Linked DNA regions of Homo sapiens: region 1 is linked to region 2. The links are contacts of gene promoters, found by promoter capture Hi-C in human tissues and cell types (Jung and others, 2019). All regions are on one chromosome and are shown on one strand. Each heading gives the region's core, a stretch centred on a gene start or on the middle of the fragment in contact. The rest is flanking DNA. Distances are from core to core; before and after follow the strand shown. Region 1 overlaps SREBF2 (sterol regulatory element binding transcription factor 2). Region 2 holds the start of NFAM1 (NFAT activating protein with ITAM motif 1).

Evidence for each region. Contacts are between HindIII fragments. The study calls those that stand out against the background at their distance.
Region 1: a contact is called between a fragment that was not itself captured here and the fragment with the promoter of NFAM1 in region 2, in 1 of the 25 tissues and cell types used here (bladder).

The regions. Positions count from the first base shown.
Region 1 is chr22:41,844,068-41,849,912 of GRCh38, forward strand. All of the region lies in intron 1 of SREBF2 (sterol regulatory element binding transcription factor 2), which reads left to right. Among named protein-coding and RNA genes, the nearest start is that of SREBF2-AS1, 12 kb to the left of the region's middle. RefSeq lists an enhancer at 2,397-3,197. The HindIII fragment of the contact is 6,451 bases long and covers 1-5,079 here.
Region 2 is chr22:42,430,449-42,435,763 of GRCh38, forward strand. NFAM1 (NFAT activating protein with ITAM motif 1) reads right to left here and starts at 1,955. Exons shown (of 6, transcript NM_145912.8): 1 at 1,789-1,955. The coding sequence starts at 1,909. The HindIII fragment of the contact is 19,415 bases long and covers 1-3,595 here.

The DNA of each region.
Region 1 (5,845 bases), core at 604-3,103, 590 kb before region 2:
ATATGTATATATATTTTTTAAATTAAGAAAAAATGTCTGCTCTATGCTGGACACTTAAAGTGACTTCCCCTGGGTCCTAGGGTACTTTCTGAGCCTTAATTTCCTCTGTAAGGTGGGGGTTGGGTACCTTAGCTCACTTAGTTCTTGCAGCACCTATGATGTAGCTAAGGTACAAAAAAGGAAGAGGACAGGACCTAACCTCTTTTGGCTCTATTTAAAAATGAATGAGGAACTGAATGAACTTCAGTTTGCACATTGATGTAGGACTAGGGGACCTGTTTTTAGAATATGTTTGGAAATGTTTATTTTTTCCTTTTGAAATGGCTTTTGTAGGTGTGGTAGTGGGACACAGAGGAGCAGTCACAGAGTGTGGTGCAAGTGACCACAAAATTAAGGGTTAAACTTTGTTGACATGATGGAATTTTTTAGAGTAGCAGAATCCCAGAGCCTGTGCCTTAAGGTAAGGCTCCCTGGGGAACTTTGTTTAGAAATGAATCCTAAACTATCGAAGGGCTTGCAAACTAGAAAATTTCTGCATATCTCAGGCCTTGAGAATTGCTAATGGATATGTATCTAAATGTCCCTTACAAGCTTGCTCCTCCACGTGGCCCTGTGGAACAGGTCTGTTGGGTTCAGGATCTAGTTTGGAACAGTGATGAAATTTCGAGCTGCTGAACCAGATATGGAACTGCTTTGCTAACCTGGTGTCTGCCCAGCTTAAGCCCCCTCCATCCCACAGCTGTGAAAGGAAATCATGCTTCTTCCCAAGTGCTAACATTCCTGTGAGGCCTTACACTTTACCCAAGTCCTCCTGATACATTTGTCTTCCTAATAAGTGCTATAAAATTGAGGCTTGATTTCCACCCCCACCCCCCACCCCCACAAGAGTCCTGCTCTGTCGCCCAGGCTAGGGTGCAGTGGCACGATCTCTGCTCACTGCGACCTCTGCCTCCTGGGTTCAAGCAATTCTCCTGTCTCCTGTAATCCCGAGTAGCTGGGATTACAGGTGTGTGCCACTATGCCAGGCTAATTTTTGTATTTTTAGTAAAGATGAGGTTTCAACATGTTGGCCATGCTGGTCTTGAACTCCTTACCTCGTGATCCACCTGCCTTGGCCTCCCAAAGTGCTGCGATTACAGGTGTGAGCCACTGCGCCTGCCCATGGCTTGATTTTTATGCCCATTTTCCATGGACATAGATGAAGGCACTGAGACAGAGAAATTAGATGATTTGCCAATGCTTCCTATGCTGATGACGGGGAATGAACTTGGATTTTCTGATGTGGGATTCCATATTCTTCGCTGTCCTATGAAAATGAGGTGGGAGATGCCTTGATTCAGGAAGCCTGTCTGTCTAGGAGCCCCTTCTCTGGTCAAAAGTTGTTTTTAAAAAATCCTTGCTGCATTTCAACGTGAATGAGTATCCACTGTATTCATAGCACAGTGCTAGAAGCTGTTAGAGTTGAATGAAATGGCCTCTGCTTTCAGGGAGCTAACATGTAAACATCCAGTCATAATACATGGGAAAATACAACAGAGGCTATAACAGAGGAACAACTCTAAATCTTTGGAGGACTGAGGAAGGGAATTAGAAAAATCTTCACAAGGACTTTGGCATTTGGGCTGAATTGTGAAGGGTGAGTAAATAGGATTTTAGAAGGTAAAGGAGCAGGCATGGTGTTTATTTAGATAGATTTAGACAAAGTTGGGAATAATTTGGCATGCTCTAGGAATATGTGTGTCAGAGTACTGCATAGGACAGAGGTTCTCAAACTTGAATGTGTCTATGAACTCCCAGGGTATACCCCCAAAGATCTGAATGTGGAAGGTCTGGGATGTTGTCCAACAGGAACACCTAACTAGTGGAGGGGGCAGGATCAGAGGAGCCTTCTCAGGGATAAGCTGAGGTCTTAAAGGGGTGGAAGGAGAGAGCAGCTGTGTTCCAGGCTGAGTGAACAGCCATTTTGAAGGGCTTGACCAGTGCTGGTGCTCGAGTGTCTGGGTTTTGTGTAGACCACACTCTTGATAACTGTGCTGTTCGTTATCTTCCACAAACAGGGTTTTGGTCAGGTGCCTCCTTGCTTCAGTGTGTTCTTTATCAGTCAGGATTCTTGGTGATAAGCAGCAGAAACCGCTTCTATCTAGCTTGAACAGAAAAGGATTTGTTAGAAGGGTGGTTCTTGGAGTGACTAGAAAAGCTGGAGAGCCAATTTGGAAAATGGGCCAGAACCAAGGAGGCTCCTGCTTAGTACTCCTCCGCCTTCATGATCTGTATATTGTCTCTGCTTTCCTGGGTCATTCCCTCAAGGGTCGCACTCCTGGTGGGAGGATGCATTAATCAGAGCTGACTGGCAGGAAACCTTCCCTCACATGAGGACTGCCCAATGGGGATTCTCCAAAGGAAGATCAGGGTGCTAATGGGAGGGTCGGGTCTGATGATGGACAAATGGAACAAAAGTGGCAAATGCCCACCATGTATTCTGTGCCTTTCCTTGCCTCTGAAATAAAAGCAGTTTCTGCCGCCAAATATACATGGTAGCATTAAGTCAGGCCTTTCACAGGCAGCTCCATCTCTCCATTTTGCACCGTGCTGTCTCTACTTCAGCAGCTGGCAGGACATTTCCTGATACTGTGGTTTTGCTCAAACTATTTCCTTTGCCTGGAATACCCTTCCCTCTCTCTAATTTATAAACCCTTTTCATCCGTTAAGCTCGGTTTTCACTGCCTGCCAGGATGGATCAGTCCTTTCTCTGCTCTCTGACAGCCCTTTCTTTGTGAGGCACTTGTCTGTTCTTGCCCTTGTCGCAGTTTATGGAGTTGGTTAGGTTTCTCTTTCTTCTCTGTGAGCATGGGAGATGGGAAGAAAACGAATACTTTTCAGTCTTTGCCCTGTGCGGAGTTCCACACAAGGCACATAGGATCCTCCAGCTCCCAGCCCAGAGTACATAGTGTATGCAAATTTGAGTGGATGTTTGTATTTGTAGCGTGATTTGATAACCTGCTTTGCAAGTATTCTTTTTCTCTTTAGTTTTAGGGAGATTTGGGGGCATGGTAATGGATGGAAGGGTAAGATGGTGGGATGTTGGGGTCTTTCATTTTTGCCTGAATGGTTTAAGGGCTGAAAAAGGTTGAGATCTCTTGCTTTGTAGACTCTGCCCCCAGGAGGAGGACAGTTCAGGTGAAGTGGCTTGTGCCTGATTTTGTTGGCAGTGGGTCACCTGAAATGTGAAATGTGAGGGCCTCCTTTTGCAGAACAGGGTCATGCAGGATCAGTTCCTTGGAGTCTCACTCTGCATCTCACTCAATTTTGTAGTCTCCTGCTAAAAGAGAGTGAAAGAGGGAACAGTATGATGCCAGGGCAGCAGCAGGTGAAGAGCTGGGAGATACAGGAAAGACCTGGGATGACACATCCTTCTCTGTCTGAGCTTGGGGCATTCACTCTACTCATTCGTGAATGAAGCACTTACTGAGCACCTGTCCAGTGTCAGGCTGTCTTTGGTGATATCCGTATGATGATAGAACCAAAGCATCTGCATTATGTGGTAGCTAAGAGCTTGACTTTAAATCCCAGCTCCACCACCTGCTGACTGGGTGACATTAGACAAGTTACTTAGCCTCTGAGTGCCTCATTTTCCTTACCTGTAAAGTGGAGATGATAATGGCATCTACCTCAAAGTGTCATTGAGATTAAACGAAATTTGTGTAAAGTGTTTAATTGCTGATACATAGTAAGAGCTCAGCAAATGTTAATTCCTGTACTTTTTAAAAATTATTACTACTAATTTGCTCAGTTTTTCTTCTTGATTGTTGTTCTCAAAGTCTGTTTCTTTTATTTATTTTCATTATTATTATTATTTTTTTTTTTTTGAGACGGAGTCTCGCTCTGTCGCCCAGGCTGGAGTGCAGTGGCGCAAACTCGGCTCAGTGCAAGCTCCGCCTCCCGGGTTCATGGCATTCTCCTGCCTCAGCTTCCCGAGTAGCTGGGACTACAGGCGCCCGCCACCACGCCCAGCTAATTTTTTTTTGTATTTTTATTTATTTATTATTATTATACTTTGAGTTTTAGGGTACATGTGCACAATGTGCAGGTTAGTTACATATGTATACATGTGCAGTGCTGGTGCGCTGTACCCACTAACTCGTCATCTAGCATTAGGTATATCTCCCAATGCTATCCCTCCCTCCTCCCCCTGTATTTTTTTAGTAGAGACGGAGTTTCACCGTGTTAGCCAGGATGATCTCAATCTCCTGACCTCATGATCCGCCCACCGTGGCCTCCCAAAGTGCTGGGATTACAGGCGTGAGCCACCGCGCCTGGCCTTCAAAGTCTGTTTTTAATAGAGCAGTCATTTAAAAATAATAAGTGGGATAAGAGAGACAGCCTTTCAAACATGGGATGACAAGAATCTGATGTCTGTGTTTTAGCATTAGGCAAGGATTGGAGTCCCTGGCTGCAGCAAGGGTGGGGCTCTTGCATGGGTCGGGACTCTGGTTGATTGCAGCATCGTAGAGCCTAACTGCTGGGAGGTGGGGCAACCCCAGCGAGAAACTCCTAGGAGGAAGCACCTCCCTGTGGTGGTTGGGGCAACTTGTGGAGCAGGGTGCTTGAGAAAAGAGCACAGGGCTTAGAGGAAGGAGTAAGGCTCCTATCTCTGTCTGCTACTCGCTCCCCACCTGCCTGAGATGGTGTGCAGGTCACCCCCTCTTTGGACTTGGACTTTTCTTCCTGTGTAAAAACCACCACCAAGACCGCTTTTCAAGCACTTACTGCCAGGCACTCACTATCCCAGGTGATTTACATATATTAACTCACTTAAAACAGTGCTTGAAATGGCTACCTCACAGGGTGATTTTGAAGATTATATAACACAGTGTGTGAAAGTAGAAGTGTTAAAAGGAAAAATAAGGGAGCCACAGTGTTAATGAAGTTATTTTCCAGTAAAAAAAATCATGTTTAAACTTTGTATATGAATATATACATACGTATATATACACTGAAGTAAATAGTACTGAAAACAGCAACAACAGCTTTTTAAGCAACATTCCAGCAGGTTCCTCTTGTACCATGTATCCCTTTTTATCCTAACACTTTGCATGCAGTCCTGGCAGATTTATTATTTATTTATTTATTTATTTATTTTTTGGAGATGGGGTCTCACTGTGTTGCCCAGGCTGGAGTGCAATGGCGCGATCTCAGCTACTGCAAACTCTGCCTTCCAGATTCAAGCGATTCTCCTGCCTCAGCCTCCCAAGTAGCTGGGATTACAGGTGCTTGCCGCCACGCCCGGCTAACTTTTGTATTTTTAGAGAAATGGGGTTTCACCATGTTACCAGGCCAGGCTGGTCTTGAACTCCTGACTTCAGGTGATCCTCCCGCCTTAGCCTCCCAAAGTGCTGGGATTACAGGTGTGAGCCACCGCACCCGCCCCAACAGATGTTTTTACAGAGGTTTTCTACCATAACATGTGCCTCTTGAAGGCATTTATTTTTGTATCTGGCACATAGTAGGATCTCAGTTAATGTTTCTTGAATGCGTGTCTTAAGGGATGTATCTTTTATTAAAATGTATACTTAAAAAGAGAGAGATTGTTCTAGAAAACAGCATCTTGTCAAGGCATATGGTCTCATTTGAAGAATAATTTAATAATTTGGATAGGAAGGTATACTTGTAAAATACAGCCAGTCAAAAATACCTTTTCCCCATTCCCCTTGATGCGTCCATTACATACATGTTCACCCTGAGATTGATCTTCCATCAGCATTGAAATGAACATTGAAAGTAATAAGATGGGCCGGGCTTGGTGACTCACGCCTGTAATCCCAGCACTTTGGGAGGCGGAGGTGGG
Region 2 (5,315 bases), core at 705-3,204:
ACTCGTGAGGCTGAGGCAGGAGAATCACTTGAACCCAGGAGGCAGAGGTTGCCGTGAACCAAGATGGCGCCATTGCACTTCAGCCTGAGTGACAAGAGTGAAACTCTCAAAAAAAAAAAAAAAAAAAAAAATCATGGGTGGGGGTTTGTCTGCTGCTCCAAGGGACTCTAGGACACCGTAAGGGTGTTTTCACCTCTTGTGAAAGAACAGTTTCTCTTTTATGTAATGTTTGTTGCAATACCGGGTGGGAGGGGGTGGCACTGGGAATGTTTTGTTATAGTTGAGACTGTTACAAAAGAGCTTTTCCCCAGTAGCACCCCATAAAACCTCTTACTGCTCGGTTACCAGGGTGTGCTGGGTGTCTTTTGGGGAGGAGGAACCACACAAAGGGAAAGGATGGGAATTGGGGGGAAATTAAATTAAAAATGACTGTAGTTGAGACACATTGACACTAACAGGCTGCATTTCCGGGGTCTGGCCGTGTTTGCACCAACTGTCTGGGGTGTGGGGCGAGGCGTGCACAGGATTAAAGGAGATGGTGTCCTAGGGCTCTGGGCTGCAGCCTGGGGAGGTACACACAGGTCAGCCTTTGCCTCCCCAGGGTAAGTTTCCGGTGAAGAACATTCTTTACAAGTAAGAGGATCCTCTGAGCCTACTGGCCGAGGGGCCCAGCTTGGGGCTGAGGCTGGCCTGGGGCTGAGGCTGGCCTCTACTTACCGGCTAGGTCTTGAGCAAACGAACTGGCTTCCCTGGGCCTCCTTTTCCCTGTCCTTAAAATGGTGCAGGTGAGGACAATAGGAGCCCCAAGGGGTGCTGTGAGGGTGGCCAGTACGTGCCCTGCTAAGGGCTCCATAAAGCCTAATTTGTGGTCATGAGAGGGGGTGCAGCAGGACAGGGTGGGGGCAGCTCTTGAAAGCCCCATAAACTAAGAGAATAGAAAGGAAGGCACCCTGTCTCCACAGTGGAGGCCACCCCTTTGGCCAGAGGGAGGGTTGGCTGCTGCCCGGCCAAGGAGGGGCAGAGAGAATCTGGCAGAATTCACTGAGCCCTCGTGCTGGCAGCCCTGGAATGGGACCCTCCTGGGCCGTCCCTGGCCTGATGAACTGGCCCTGAGGCTACCTACCCCACAGCTTGGCTCGGATCCCGGCCACCCAGCTTCCAAGAAAGCCTGGAACCAGGAAAGGAGCGCCGCTGGCGTGGAAAGACACACTTGCATCCTAAAACACTTGGCCTCTGGTTGTGTTTCAGGAACTGGGAGGTGAGACCCTTTCTGGTGACTGACAGTTTTGTGCCTCTGGGCGCAGAGCCCTGTGGCTGGCCCTGGTATCCCCCCCTCCCCCCTCTCCCCGCTCTCCCTGGCCAATGCCAGCAACAACCCAGAGGGTAGCCCCACCACTTGCCAGGTTCAACGCAGTGTCCCCCGCAGCAGCCACGTGAGGTTCCTCGGATGGGGAGCTGTCCCTCCCCCCTGCCCCGCCCCTGGCCCCAGCCACACAGCGCCCACCCTCCTTGTTTAAGGGCCAGGAGGCCAGACTGCTGGGGCAAAGCTGTCACAGCAGCGAGGGAGAGAGCGCTGTCCCCCTCCCCTTCAAAAGCCACCTTGGCAAGGCATTAGCTAAACATCTTCTCGGTCCCAGAAGGCTTCCCCTGTGAAGTCTGCAGCGTTCAAACGACAACCAGCAAATCCCCAGAGACAGGTCCCTGGGAATTAGCTGCGCCGGGCGGGATGAAAGCCGCTCTGATGTTCTGGAGCGAGAGAGTAGAGAGAAGGAGGAAGACAGACACTACCTGCCAGTCGCAGGGTCCCGGGCAGCAGCAGCACGCCAAGGAGGAGCCAGGGGGCTGCGGGGAGCCCAGGAGGGCGTGGGAGGCCTGGCAGGGCCCGCCACCTCACAGGCTGGTTCTCCATCTGGGGGCCTGCTTGTCTGCGGCGACTCTTTAGTTCACAGGAGGGGACGGCCGGCGCTGACAGCTTCCCCTTTGCTTTCCCCACGAAGCTCCTCCCTGGCAGCCCCTGACCTTCCGCTCAGAAGCAAAGCTGGAACAGCCCAGCAGGGTGGCCGCCAGATGAGGAACCTGGCACTGAGACTGGTCCAGGCCACACAACCAGAAGAAGAGCTGGAGACGGGACCCAAGCCTCCCCACTCCAACCCCTGGTGGGCTTCACCCTGTCTCGGCCCCTTTCCAGCAGGGGCCCCGTCCAGGAGACACTGGTAACTGTGCAGAGGGATCATGGGATTTCCATGAGTGACTTCGGGCCTTGGTTTAGCCTCTCACTTCTGAAACACTTTTAAAACGACCACAAGCATGTTCACACAAACTTCTCTAAAATATTCTGAGAATCCCTTAATAATGTGTTTACCAAAGGTAGGTTTTTTGGTGAGGGGTGGTAGGGAGGCTGGGGTGAAGGGCAGGAGCCTCATGTTCCCAGCCCTAGAGAGGGCCAAACACCCAGGGCAGGTGAAAGGCAGGCTGCCCATCATTCACCCAGCGAGAACCTCTGTGGGTCCCCTGCAGAGGCCCAGGAGACGCCTCCTCTCTGGTCCATCTCTAACGTCAGCTCCTCCCTGTGGCTGCCCTAAAGCTTAGCTCACTCGGCCTCCCAACTGTGAGACCCTCGAACTGCTTCCCCATTGGCTGCAGGTCACAGCCCCTGCTCTCACTTCTAGCAGCATCAGCCGGGGACAGGAATTGTTTGCTGCCGGGACCCCCTTCCCCAGCAGACTGGGAGCCCCTCACCCTTGGCACCCACACATCTGCCTGCGTGTCTGGAGTGGCAGAGGAAAGGGGCTGGGGTGTGGTGATGGCTGGTGGAGCTGGAGGCACCTGGTACATGGAAGACGCAGGCGGGAAGGTGGCTGAGTTTCAGCGCATGCTGAGCGCTTACCTCCCTTCTCTGCAGGTGTCCCTTCACTCACCAGATAAATGTGATGATCCCAGTTGTACAAAAGAGAAGACCTCGGCCCCAGGAGGCAAAACAACATGCCTAGGATCAGGGCAGGTCTGTGGGGCGGGCATTTGAACTGCCAGTGGTATGATGTCCGAGCCTTCTCCCACCCTGCTACTGCCTGCTCAGGTGTGTCCAGCTGCAGCCCCCGGTGACGGCATCATGAGATCCATTTCAGTTCTTTGCACACATGCTTTTCCCTGGGCTGCTCCAAACATGAACAGTGAAAGCCTAAAGACGTTTCCACCAATGCCACGAGCACTGGGAGGCTGGCAAGAGCAGGGGCCGCCCACCAGGGGAGGAAGACATATGAACAGGAGAAGTTTCCTACCGCGCAGGGGGCAGGCGGGGACCCCAGTGTTATTGACTGTTGATCCATCACAGTGATACATGCTCACATATGTCACAGTGAGATGCAGACCCGCTGCTTCACGCTATTCCTGGCTCCTGGGAGTAGCAGGTTGTCTAAGCACCTTGATGCCATGGTGATAGACCTCGTGTCAATGCCTCAGGGTACACGGGGAGCATTGGAAAAGCATCGGTCTGTGCCTCTACAAGTCTCATTACGACTTGGCACTGGGAGGCAGCTGAATGCCAAACTGCCTCGGAACAAGGGAGCCTGCTCTTCCAGCCCTGGTGCCGCCTCCGCTCCTGCCCCTGTGCCAGCTCACTGACCCTACCTCTCAGCCTGTCACGGTGCCCCCCACACCCCAACTCTGTACCTCGGACTCCCGGGAGTTCTGCCGCCTCTGAGTCTGGGTCTAGCCTGCTGCACACCTGGTTTCCACGCTTGCCTGCCTGAGCTGCCTGTCTTCCTCCCCTCTCCTTCTTGAGCCTGGCCCAGGGGGTGCAGGAATGGACGGATGGGTGAGCATAAGGCAGGGAGAAGCCTTCCTCCAGGCTTGATATGAAGGCAGGTGCCCAACACCACGCTGGTGCACAAGAGGCCTCAAGGGAAGGGGTAGCCTCTGGGAGGCAGGGTGGGAGGAGGCGTGCATACTCCCCAGGCAGGCCCTGGGCTGTGGAGCGCAGACATGACTGGACAAGAAGCAGCTGAGGGTCCCAGCTCATTGCCCAGTTTCTGAGACGCTCTGCAGCCACGCAGCCTCCTGGGGAGAGGCAGGGACGCACCTTGGCAAGGAGCCCAGCAGCCCTGGCTGCGCTGTCGGGGCCTCGTGTCTGGCCCTGATCCTCCTCGGGAGCCAGGGGGATAGAAATAAAACCGCAGCGCATCCAGGAGCCTCATTTCTACCAAAACTTTCTAGCACCTCTCATGTGCTTCCTCTCCTGTGCCCTCAGCCAGAGCTGTGAATAAACAGTAAAGGCCCCAAAGGCTGAAGGCGGAGCAGAGGAATGAGGAGGCTCTGTGGGTGTCCCAGGGGCAGCTTCAGTGGCACAGCCTTCGAGCTAGGCCTTGGCAGCTGAATTTGCAGGTGAGGTCCCTGGGGACCACACGTCTCAGCCACTGGCTTTTGCCCAGACCTCCGTCCATTCCCCGTTTATCCGTGCATCTATGCCTCACAGTATACTGAACACCTGCCCTGCCCTGGGCCCTGGCCTCACGGAGGCTGTAGAAGTGAAAGAGCCTAGCCTCCCTGGGAAGCCTAGGGGCACGGCAACCTCAGCAGAGTGAAGCAATAATAGAGCAGTTCCGGGAAGCTTCCAAGCGCCTGACACTGCTCCAGGGGACCTGCTCTCCTTGCCAGTTTAATCCTCACTGCAGCCCTATGGGGCAGGCACTCTAATCACCTCCATTGTACAGATGAGGAAACTGAGGAACAGGGAGGTTAAAGTAATTTCTGAGTGGCAGCCCTGAAGGAGGTGGAAGCTGGGTGGGGAAATGGGGGAGCCCAGGTGTCCCCTGCAGTCCCCAGGGGCCTCCTCGACACCAAGACTAAGGCTTTCCAAATGAGACCACAATTACTGGCCTCTGTTTTCTTTTTCTTTTCTTTCTTTTTTTTTTTTTTTTGAGACAGAATTTTTCTCTTGTTGCCCAGGCTGGAGTGCAATGGCGCGATCTCGGCTCACCGTAAACTCTGCCTCCCGGGTTCAAGTGATTCTCCTGCCTCAGCCTCCCGAGTAGCTGGGATTACAGGCATGTGCCACCACGCCCGGCTAATTTTGTATTTTTAGTAGAGATGGCATTTCTTCATGTTGGTCAGGCTGGTCTCGAACTCCCAACCTCAGGTGATCCGCCCACCTCAGCCTCCCAAAGTGCTGCGATTATAGGTGTGAGCCACTTTGCCCAGCTGGTCTCTGTTTTCAGTTTAGTTCCACAAACACTTATTATGTGCCTACTGCGTGCCAGGCATTGGGCAGACAAAACATAAGTCATGGTTTTGCCCTCAAGGCGCTCCCTGTCCAGGGA